Regions from separate parts of the Homo sapiens genome. Here region 2 is linked to region 1. Evidence: promoter capture Hi-C in human tissues and cell types (Jung and others, 2019). All regions are on one chromosome and are shown on one strand. Each heading gives the region's core, a stretch centred on a gene start or on the middle of the fragment in contact. The rest is flanking DNA. Distances are from core to core; before and after follow the strand shown.

Region 1 (5,927 bases), core at 351-2,850:
GCTCAGGAGTTGGGGACCAGCCTAGGCGACACAGTGTAGAGATTTTTTGTATCTCTACAGAAAATACAAAAATTAGCCAGACATGGTGGCGTGCGCCTATACTTCCAGCTACTAGGGAGTGGAAGGATGGCTTGATTCCAGGAGGAAACATAGCAAGACCCTGTCTCAAATATAAATAAATAAATAAATACATCATATCAAAATTTGGGTGATGCAGCTAAGGCAGTACCTCAAGAGAAACTTATAGCTATGTTACATTTTAAAAGGTATATAATCAATGACCTATGATTCCACCTTAAGATGTTAGAAAAAAACAGCAAAGTGAATATACAAAGTTAGTAAAGTGAAGGGAATAATAAACAGAATGAAATAAAAACAAACAATAGAAAAAACAATATATTTAGCACAAGCCACTTCCTACTGCAACGATCCAAGTAAAAAAATCTCCAAATCCCACACTATTTGATATATACCTCCATAAAACAAAGGGGCTTGGGCTCCAACCATTCTTTTGAGCTCTTGAGCTTGGGAAGTGTGCCAGTTACCAGATCATCACTGTCTACATTTTTCATTGTGGTCACAAATAACAATGCCCCTGGAAAAACTAAAAATCATCTTATTTAGTATTGAACATTTCACAGTCATCTGATTTTCTCTTCTGTTTAATACCACCTGTGTCCTTGCACACACGCAAAATGGATTTTGAACACTAACCATCCAGTTTCCCTAACAAGAGGCCTTCACTACAGACTCCAGATGACGGCTTCAGAGCCAGCCTCCTTTATAAGCAGGCGAGATGCTCTTTGAAAGAATCCCCCGTCCCTTGGAATGGATTCCCACGTCCCCCTCCAAGGCAGCCCATTCCAGCCAGTGTGGCAGCTTCAGCCTGGCCTCTCGGAGTCCCATTTGCAACACTTTTCTGACTTTGGTGGCCTCGAGTGGGAAGAACTGCAACTTTCTGGCCACAGAAACACAGGCTGAGCTGCTTAGAGAAGGCAGGGAGGGGCTTTCGGTCATACTGCGCGAGTCTTCGAGCTCTGAGCGGCTCGAAGTCCTCCCCGAGGCACGGGTGCGACGGGGATGTCGTAGGCGTCCGCACCCGCTCTCGCTCATCGCGCCCACTCCCGGCCCTTCCTCCCACCCACTAGGCCGGGCGCCTGCGGCCTCCACGCCAGCCCCGGGCCGGGGGCCTCCCGCGCAGGCGCGTCGTGCGCGGGGACCGCCCGGCCTGGCGGGGAGGTCGCCGGCCGCGACAGGCACCTCTCTGCCCTCCCAAGGCCAGCAGGCCCGCGGCCGTCCTGCTACACACTCGGGCCCGGCCCGACGACCCCGGAGCCGTCCGACTGCGGCTGGAAGGGAGCCCGCCCGCGTCTGCGGAACGCGCGAATGTTGGCGCCCACCGTCTCCCGGACGCAGCGCCGCGCGAGCACTCCGCCCCCTGCGCCGCGGGTTCCACAGCGAGTCCGCGCGGGCGGTGCCGGGGCGGCGGAGGACGGCTTCAGGCCCAAAGGGGATTGGGCGGCGGCTCTAGGTGGCGGGTCTTGGTTTGCGGAAGGGGCTGGAGTCGCTGCTTCTCGGTGACCGGCGCGTGGCCCGGCCAATCCTGCCGCCGCCACCCACCCGCAACCGCGTCCGTTGACGGTCGGGTCCTTGGTCGCCGGGTCCTTGCGGGCACCACAGAGCGGGGTGGCGTCCGCTCCCTCGAGTCCTCGGTGCCAGGGAATTCACCGCTCACCACCCCCTGCCCCGCCTTGGGTCCTGCTCGGGGACCAAACCACTGGAAGGCAGTGGCGGGAAACGGGCGCCTGTGCCGGAGGTCCTGATGAGGGGGGTCCAAGGCTTGGGGACTTGTGCGGGAAATGTGGGTTTAAGTGCCTTCAAGGTGTTTTTAGTCCATTGGGATGTTGATCAGCGTTCATAGCTGGCGCTGATGCAGGTCACCGGGAAGGGAATGTGTGGGTTTATGGCCACGCATAATCTCTTTTAGTCGTGTTTAACTTAGCAGGGTAGCTCTCCATCCTGGCTGGGTTTTGTTTTTTGTTTTTATTTTTTATTTTACAGAGTTTTTCTCAGTGTGTAATGTTTGTTTTTAAATCGCAGATAATCCTGATGTAAACCATTGACATAGCCAGAAAATCACCAGGCTGTGATTTTCCAAACTCAGCTTCATAACCTATTCTGTGTGAGCTGTGATTTTTCTATGATTCTGTTTTCCTCTTTGGGTACTGGTGGGCCCTGAATGATGGACCACCGTTTTCACCCTGTACCTTTTCAAAGTACACTTGCTGATCTTAGAACTGTCTGCAGTGTCTTAAGGACATTTGTATTCACATGCCTTTTAAAAGCTAGCCAGAGTCAATGGCTTCAACTGCACTTTCCCTTTCAGAGTTGAGGGAACATGAGCCATTTGCAGAGCTTATTGTTAGACACCCTCTTGGGAACCAAGCATGTGGACAGTGCAGCCCTCATCAAAATCCAGGAGCGGAGCTTGTGTGTAGCATCACCAGGTTTCAATGTAAGAAAAAACAAGTTTGGACCTAAGACTTGATTTACTTATTATTTCTATTCTTCCAAAAAATGAAGCAGACATGACTTTTTTTTTTTTTTGAGACGGAATTTCACTCTTGTTGCTTAGCCTGGGATGCAATGGCATGATCTCAGCTCACTGCAACCTCCGCCTCTCAAGCGATTCTTGAGCCTTAGCCTCCCGAGTAGCTGGGATTACAGGAGTGCGCTACCAGGCCCGGCTAATTTTTGTATTTTTAGTAGAGATGGTGTTTTACCATGTTGGTCAGGCTAGTCTCAAACTCCTAACCTCAGGTGATCCACCTGCCTCGGCCTCCCAAAGTGCTGGGATTACAGGCATGAGCCACCGTGCCCAGCCCAGACATGACTTTTAAATGAACTTTTTCTGTAAAGAGCTACATAAATATTTTAGGTTTCTAGGCTTAGTCTTTTTACTGTTGATATAAAGGAATACCTGAAGCTGGGTAATTTATAAAGAAAAGAGGTTTATTTGGCTCACAGTTCTACTGCCTGGAAGACTGGTCATCTGTGAAAGCCTCAGGCTGCTTCCACTCATGGCAGAGGTGAAGGGGAGCCAGCATGTGCAGAGATCACAGTGGGGGAGAGGAAGCAAGAGAGAGCAAGTGGAGAGGTGCCAGGCTCTTTCTAAGAGCCAGCTCTCCTGGAACAAATACAGTGAAAACTCACAGCTTCCCCCAGCTCGCAGGGAGGGCATCAGTCTATTCATGATCCAAATACCTCCCATTAGGCCCCACCGAAAACGCTGGGAATCAGATTTCAACATGAGATTCAAACTATAGCACAGGGCCGTAGAGTCTCTGTCACAACCACTCAACTCTGCAATTGTAGAGGAAAAACAGCCATACATAAAAGAATGAATGTGACTGTGTTCCAATAAAATTTTATATTTATGGATACTGAAGTTTGAATTTCATATAATTTGTAAGTGTCACGAAGTGTTATTCTTTTGATTTTTTTTCCCCAACCATTTAAAAACATGAAAACCATTCTTAGCTTGCAGGCCATAAAAAACAGGTAGTGGGCTAAATTTGGCTGGCCACCAGCCATAGTTGGCTGACTCCTGCTCTAACCATGTAACCTCTCCAGGTAACGCCCAGTGATGTCCGAACACTGGTGAATGGATTTGCCAAGAACCCTTTGCAAGCCCGAAGAGAAGGACTGTATTTCAAGGGAAAAGATTACAGATGTGTCCGGGCAGATGAATATTCTCTTTATGCCAAAAATGTGAGTGCTCAAGATTTGAAGAGAGCTGAGTAAAAGAAAAGAATTTGCCTCCAAATTTCCTTGCTCTGCCTGATCCTTTCTGTAAAACAGATTAAATCCATTAATGTCTTGAGCCATTGTCTTGAGATAGCAGTCTAGTGCCAGGAAGACATATGTGAAAGAAAGTCCTATCAAGAGCCTGGTTTTGAGAAATGTTCATTCCAGAATCTATTAACTGAGCCTTGCCTGAACTCTTTCCAATACAGTCCCACCTTCATACTCTACATCCTCCTTTAAAAAAAAAAAAAAAAGAGATAATCATTTCTGTGCTTAAAACATTTCTCAGTGGCCAGGCACAGTGGCTCACACCTGTAATCCCAGCACTTTGGGAGGCTGAGGTCAGGAGTTCAAGACCAGCCTAGCTAACATGGTGAAACCCTGTTTCTACTAAAAATACAAGAAAATTAGCCAGGTGTGGTGCGCCCTTGTAATCCCAGCTACTTGGGAGGCTGAGGCAGGAGAATTTCTTGAATCCAGAAGGCAGAGGTTGCAGTGAGCCGAGATCGTGCCATTGCACTCCGGCTTGGGCAACAAGAGCGAAATTCCATCTCAAAAAAAAAATTTTAAAAAAAATCAGCTCTCTGTTGCTTATAAGGAATGAAAGAGATGAAAATCATTCATTGGATGCCCTATATTATGGGTTAGGCATGCTGCTTCATCCACATTATAAACTAAATAATCTCATTTTACAGATGAGGACACTGAGGCTTAACAAGGTTAAATAACCCTTACTCATGCAGCAGAAAAGGAGGCACTAGAATTCAAGCCCAGAGCTGTCCAATTCCAAAATGTACGACCTTTCCATTACATCAGTTTTGTTTTGTTTTGTTTTGTTTTGTTGTTGTTTTTTTTTTTGAGACGAGTTTCACTTTTGTCGCCCAGGCTGGAGTGCAATGGCACGATCTCGGCTCACTGCAACCTCCACCTCCTGGGTTCAAGAGATTCTCCTGCCTCAGCTTACCGAGTAGCTGGGGTTACAGGCGCCTGCCACCACGCCTGGCTAATTTTTGTATTTTTAGTAGAGATGGGGTTTCACCATGTTGGCCAGGCTGGTCTCAAACTTCCAACCTCAGGTGATCTTTCTGCCTTGGCCTCCCAAAGTGCTGGGATTACAGGCGGGAGCCACTGCACCCGGCCTACATCAGTTGTTCTAATTGGGATGGGGTATATGATAATCAATTGCAGAACTTTTTCAAAATCCATCTACCATTATTATAACAGTCTGAAACTTTTTGAGGAAAGGCAACTAAATTGGTGGAAAAGAGTGGACAGTCCAAAAACAGATATATAAACATATGGAAAATATATACGGAATATGTATATTCCATATATATTCCAAACATATGGAAATCAGGAAATGGTGAAAAACGTAGCTGGAGCATGACCACTGGTCCTGTGATTAGAACCAAGAGCAGAATATTCTCTTATATTCTTTATACAGGAGAACACTGGTGTGGTTGTCGTGAAGACCCATCTGTATCTTCTGGTAGCAACTTACACTGAGGGCATGTATCCTAGCATCTGTGTGGAAGCCACAGAGAGCCTGGGTAAGTTGGCCTCCTAGTTCCTGTCTTCATTCCCTATGTTAGTTGGGTCTTCCGACTACGAGTAACAGAGATCCAACTCAAACCAGCTAGGGCAGAAAGGAGGAATTTATTGGAAGGATGCTGAGGTTATTTACATAGCCACTGGAAGGACAGGGTGCAGCTGAGCCATGGGGAAGGTAGATTCAGGGACTGGAACACTGCTAGGATTCTGTCTTGACTTCTAAATGAGTCAGCTTTGTTCTGTCTCATAGCAAACTGTTTCCTTTCCTGGCTGATATCATGGCCAAGCCTCCCATAATACCCCTTAATTTCTCTTAGGACCCTGATTTGGCAAGTTTCAGGTCATATGGTTTACCCCTGTATCAGTCAGCTATGTAGGTGGGGCAGGATAGGGGAGGGGGGAGACAGCAGGGTAAAAAGGCAGAGATGTGGCTGCTGGGGGTCTACCCTATATAAAGAGACATTTTACAGGAAAAGGAATTACTGTGAGTCAGGCAGCCACTTTGTTGGTATATACTGCATTCCCCCTCCGTGTCTATACATTTTTGAATAAAGATCTCATAGAGAACT
Region 2 (6,070 bases), core at 1,133-3,632, 590 kb before region 1:
AGTTCCTGTTGCTCTACATCCTCGCCAGCATATTGTTGTTTTAATTTGCAATTTTCTAATGACATATGAGTTGGGCATCATTTCATATGCTTATTTACCATCTGTATATCTTCTTTGGTGAGGTGTCTGTTCAGATCTTTTGCCCATTTTTAAATTGAGTTGCTTGTTTTCTCATTGTTTCATTTTAAGAGTTCTTTGTTTATTTTGGGTATCACTCCTTTATATCAGATATGTGTTTTACAATATGAGTTAGGAAATATTTTCTTTGCTTCTATTTTTTGGAAGAGATTAGAGAGAATATAATTTCTTCCTTAAATGTTTGGTAGAATTACAAGTGAACCCATCTGGGTTTAGCCTAGTGATTTCTGTTTTGAAAGGTTATTGATTATTGATTCATTTTCTTTCAAGAGGTGGTCTTTAAAGAGCAGAAGATTTAACATTTAACGAAGTCTAATGTATCAATCTTTTTCTTTCATGATTAGCACTTTTTGTGTCCTATCAAAAATGTGTCTATCTCAATGACTTTTTTTTGTTGAAAAGCTTTATAGTTTTAACTTTTATATTTAAGCCTATGATCAACTCAAAATAAGTTCATTTTTTTGTGTATGGGATGAGGAGAGAGGTTGAGGTTCATTTTTTTCTACATAGATGTTCAGTTGTTATATCACCATGTATTGAAATGACTATTCTTTGTTTAATTACCTTGGTGTCTTTGTTGAATGTCAATTCGCCATATAAATGTGGGTCTGTTTCTGGACTCTCCATTATTTTGCATTGATCTATATGTCTATTTTTATTCCAAAACCACACCATCTTGATGACTGGTGCTTTATAGAAGTATTAAAATCAAGCAGTATAAATACTCCCAAGTTTTCTTTTTTTTTTTTTTAAGTGGTTTTTGTTATTTCAGGACCTTTGCATTCTCATATACACTTTAGAAAAAGCTTGTCAAATTTTACTAAAATGCCTGCTCAGATTTTTTTTTTTTTTTTTTTTTGAGACGGAGTCTCACTCTGTCACCCAGGCTGGAGTGCAGTGGCGCAATCTCGGCTCACTGCAATCTCCGCCTCCTGGGTTCACACCATTCTCCTGCCTCAGCCTCCCGAGTAGCTAGGACTACAGGCACCTGCCACCACGCCCGGCTAATTTTTTGTATTTTTTTAGTAGAGACGGGGTTTCACCATGTTAACCAGGATGGTCTCGATCTCCTGACCTTGTGATCCGCCTGCCTCGGCCTCCCAAAGTGCTGGGATTACAGGCGTGAGCCACTGCGCCCGGCCGCCTGCTGGGATTGTTATTGGGATTACATTAAATTTACATGGGTTGATTTTGGAATAACTGATATCTTGACAAAATTGTGTCTTACAATCCATGAAAATGGTATCCCTCTCCATTTATTTGGCCCCCCTCTAATTTCTCTCAGCAAAGTAGTTTTCAGTGTAGAGTAATGCACATGTTATTCCATCTAAAATTTATGTCTTAATATTTTATGTATTTTGTAAATTGCTTTTTCTATATCATTATCCAATTGTATGTAACTGATATACAGAAATACAATTGATTTTTTAAAATACTGAGTACACATATTGTGACTTTGCTAAGTTCATTTAGTTCAAGTAGCTTTTCCTCTCACTTCTTTAGGATTTTCTACATGCAGGACACTTATAGAATATTTTTCTGTTAAAAAAATGCATTTTTAACTTTAGCCTCTAGCCTCAAATATTATACTATTTTGTAGAAAAGAGTATTGTCTCATTTATTCTACCCCATTTTTGGTACTATTACTGTCATACATTTTTCTTCTACATATTACATATATAATTCACTGTTATTATTTTTGCTTTAAACAGTTATTTTTCATTTAAAGAAACTAACAAATGAGAAAAAAGAATTTTCCATTTATTCATACCTTTACTTATCTGGCTCTCTTATTATTTTCTGTAGGTTAGAGTTTCCATCTGGATTCATTTTATTTTAGCTTGAACAATAGTGTAATCTGCTGGTGACAAATTTTCTCAGGGTGGTTTGTTTGAAAACATCTTTATTTCACCTGCATTTCTGAATGATACTGGATACAGAAAGTTAGTTGTTTTCTTATCTTTGTTCATCTTATATCATTTTCTATCTTTTTTCATCTCTGTGTCATTTTGAATGATACTAAGTATAGAAAGTTTTTTCTTGTTTATCTGACATAATGTGTCATTTTTCTTTGATTGGTTTTAAGATTTTTGTTTCAGCAATTTGATTATGACATGGCTTATAGTAGTTTTCTTTGTGTTTATTTTGCTTGGGATTCATTAAACTCTTGGATTTGTAGGTTTACAAATTTCCACAAATTTGTAAATATTTTGGCTGTTTTTTCAAAAATTTCACCTGCTCCCCCTTCTTCCATAATTATGTATTATTTATATATTATGTGTATACTAGACTGCTTTGTATTGTTCCACAGGTGACTGAGGTCTTTCAATACTTTTGTGGTATTCTTTTTCTCCTCTAATTTGAGTAGTTTCTAATACTATGTCATGTTTATTGCTCTTTTTTTCCTGCAGTGTCTAATCTGCTGGTAGGCTCCTCCAACAAATTTTTCATTTTAAATACTGTATTTTTCAGCTCTACCAGCTCTATTTGGCTCTTTTTTTTTGTAGTTTATATCTCTTCCCTCATTATGTTCATGTTGTCCCTTAAGTTCTTCAACATATTTAGAATAGCTATTTTCAAATCTTTTTCTATTACTTCTATCATCTCTGTCATTTCTGGATCTATTAACTGACTTTGTTTGGGTATGGGTCACAGTTTCTTGCTACATCATGTGTCTTAATTTTTTTTATTATATGTTGGAAATTATGAATATAATGCTGCTGAATGTCTGAATTTTGGTGTCTTCTTTAAAAACTATTGAATAGTGTTCTTTCAGACAGTTAATTTACTTGTACATAAGCTTGATCCTTTTGAGGTTTGTTTTTAAGATGTCAAAGCAGGTCTAGGGTAAATCCACTCTTAAAGTGAGGCCATTTTCCACTAAATGTCCCAGATGTTCAAGAAGGTCTACCGACTCTGATTGGTCAGGACTTGATTATCTTCCAATCTTGTGTGAGTTCTGGTAGTTGTTCAGCTCACTCCTTCCTGATAGTTGTTCTTCCTTCACAAACTGTTCTTTGCCCCACCTGATGGAGTATCGTTGAATACATGCACAGTGTAGTATTCAGCCAAGGATAGAAAAGAACCCTGATTCAGATTTTTGTTGCTATTTTCTACATATCCTTCTCTTCTCGGGTACTTTGTTCAGCAAGTTCTAGCTGCCCCACTGTCACTGAACTCCTATCACTATTTTCGGAGTTTAGTAAAATATCCGTGCTTATTTTGGGTTCCTCCTACCTGTACTTGGTTTGGTAAACATCTCCAAGAAAAAAGCTGAGATGATTGTAGAGCTCACCTGACTTGCTTCCTTCTCAGAGAGATCACAGTCTCACACTGCCTATTATCTATTGGCTTACAAGAATTGTTTAATGTATTTGCTCTTTTTCCCGTTATTTACAGTGGGAGGACTAGACCAGTGCCAATTATTGCTGTCATAGTTGAAAGTAGAAGTCCTTTTTCTCAAATCATAAATGTCTTCTAGTTCCAATATTACCTTTGAAAATTCCTGATTCACTGTATGGAATTAACTTCTCTCTGAAAGGTTTTAGAATCTTTTCTTTATCTCTCATGTTCCAGAATGATATGATGACAAGCTTTGGTACAAGTACTTTTTTTTTCCATTTGTGTTGGGTACTTGTTGAAACACTGTAATCTGGGGAATCAGAAAATTCTCTTATATTTTTTGATGTTTCCCACCCTTGTTTGTGTAATTCTTTTATTTTTTTAAATTAAATTTAATTTTTAAAATTAATTAATTAATTAATTATTTTTGAGATAGAGTTTTGCTCTTGTCGCCCAGGCTGGAGTGCAATGGCACGATCTCAGCTGACTGCAACCTCTGCCTCCTGGGTTCAGGTGATTCTCCTGCCTCAGCCTCCCAAGTAGCTGGGATTACAGGTGCCTGCCACCATGCCCAGCTAATTTTTGTATATTTTTGGTAGAGACAGGGTTTCACCATGTTGATCAAGCTGGTCTTGAACTCCTGACCTCAGGTGATCCGCTTGCCTCAGCCTCCCAAAGTGCACGATTACAGGCGTGAGCCACCGCACCTGGCCTGTTTGTGTAATTCTTAATCATTACTGGCCCTCTGAGGTGGACCTTGTAATTTCCTTAACTTTTTCTTCCCTACTTCCCATTTGTCTTTCTGGGAGCATCTTTTTGTTCTTTCTGGAAGCTTTTCTCAGCTGTATCATCTTACATTTCCCTCATTAAAAAAAAAAGTTGGATACCTAATTTCCAAGAGTTTTTTCTGTTCTTTGTCCCTTTTTTTCCCTTTCCATATTTTCAGGGGTAATACATTTTTATCTTTCTAAAATTTCTAGTAGTTTTTTTCTTTTTTGGTTTATGCATTCATTATATATTTCCACTGCATACTTTTTCTGTTTATTTCTTTTTCTCCCTTTCAAGTTGCAGAGTTTCCTCCAAGTACTGATGATTCTTGACTGTGTCTGTTCAGTCAGTGTTCTTAAACATGGACTGGGAGGGCTGAGTGCCAGGCTTGTCTCTTCTGGGAGCCTTCATTGTTGGATGATGAGATAGCAGAATGGCTTTTGTACTTATATACTCACATCCAGACATCTTTCCGCCCATTCAATGTCCCCTGAGAAAATTCTTCCAGTCTCCCATATTGGATGGGGAAGGAGATAAAGACCTCCAAATCAATCAATATGCAGACTTTCATTTTATCTCTTTTCAGCCTTGCATCTTACTGTTTCCTCAATTGTGACTGACATTCCAGTCTAGAGCCTCACTGCTTCTATTAGAAGAAACTTTCAAAATCATTTAATCTAATTCTTATATTGCAGATAAAGAGAATAAGGTTCAAAAAATGTACTTCCTTGAGGTAAGACTGTTAATGACTGGAGAATGTGAGATTTGAATCTAGGCTTCTGACTCTTCCTCTAATACTCTGGTCAGCTAAAATACTGCCTCCAAAAATGTCACAGATGGATTCAAGATTATTCTTCGCAGCTGTCTGAAATCCTGGCAAACTATCAGTAATTGGGTCATGACAGTTAAAAGTTCCAGTTGGACTGAAATAACTGAAGTCCCACATATGATACCATCAGAAAAGGGATAGAACTAACGTTGAAAATCCAGACTAATTTTGAAAGTGGGCTGATTAGTTTCCTTTAGTTTCAAGGTCATACAATGGAATTCTTACCACTGGTTTTTTCAACATCAAAATGTGATGGGCAAAAAAATCTGACAGCCTTATCTTCATAAATTTAATGTATTAAACTATCAAAGTGTCTCTCAACTAGGAAAATGCTAACTTGGGTTAGAACAATAACATATTTTAACACAGTTGTCTCCTAAGCAACTTCATGGAAAACTCATTCTGTGGTATAACATGTATTACTTGAGAAAAGAAATTCCATAATCAGGAAAGTTTGGGAAATGTTGGGTAAAAGAAATCTAAACTACATTCTTTAATACAAGGCTTCTCAAAACTGCTAATAGGCATTAAAACATCAATATGAAATGTATGGAACATGTAGCATTTGCCCAGTGTATTTTAGTACAGAATCTTTTATTTCTGCAACTCACAGGATTAGTTTTCAAGGAAGATATCTGGAAACAATCTGACCCAATACTGTATTTCTGAAAGTCCTGTTATGGGGTGTTTTGGGTGAGACGACAAAATTGTTCTCCTTAACATCAATTGCTCACCTTAACATTAATTACAAAAGGATAGAGGTCATAATTTAAAATACACATGATGAATGATGTTCACATGCCTAAATATAACTGTTTTATTATTTATAGTGGCATTAATAAAAAGATATTTCACTCTTAAGCAAAGGATCTGTGTAATACTGGTGAGAGACAAAATGCTAATCCACATTATCACTAAACGTTTAAAATGAGGTGTTGTCCCCAGAACATACTATTTAGCCTGGAAGTGGGTCTGGCAGTGGCGGACTGAAGT

What was found. The method cuts DNA at HindIII sites, captures the fragments that hold promoters and counts their contacts. A contact is called where the count stands out against the background at its distance.
Region 2: a fragment that was not itself captured here is called in contact with the fragment with the promoter of PFN4 in region 1 in 1 of the 25 tissues and cell types used here (hippocampus).

Annotation. Positions count from the first base shown.
Region 1 is chr2:24,119,007-24,124,933 of GRCh38, reverse strand. It overlaps PFN4 (profilin family member 4), which reads left to right and starts at 1,600. Exons shown (of 5, transcript NM_199346.3): 1 at 1,600-1,816; 2 at 2,387-2,515; 3 at 3,634-3,771; 4 at 5,252-5,357. The coding sequence starts at 2,399. FAM228B (family with sequence similarity 228 member B) reads right to left here and starts at 1,465. Exons shown (of 11, transcript NM_001145710.2): 1 at 1,401-1,465; 2 at 474-604. The coding sequence starts at 572. RefSeq lists an enhancer at 714-963 and a silencer at 1,034-1,533. The HindIII fragment of the contact is 15,112 bases long and covers 1-5,927 here.
Region 2 is chr2:24,711,071-24,717,140 of GRCh38, reverse strand. It overlaps NCOA1 (nuclear receptor coactivator 1), which reads right to left. Exons shown (of 23, transcript NM_003743.5): 14 at 6,030-6,070. Among named protein-coding and RNA genes, the nearest start is that of PTRHD1, 79 kb to the left of the region's middle. The HindIII fragment of the contact is 3,280 bases long and covers 743-4,022 here.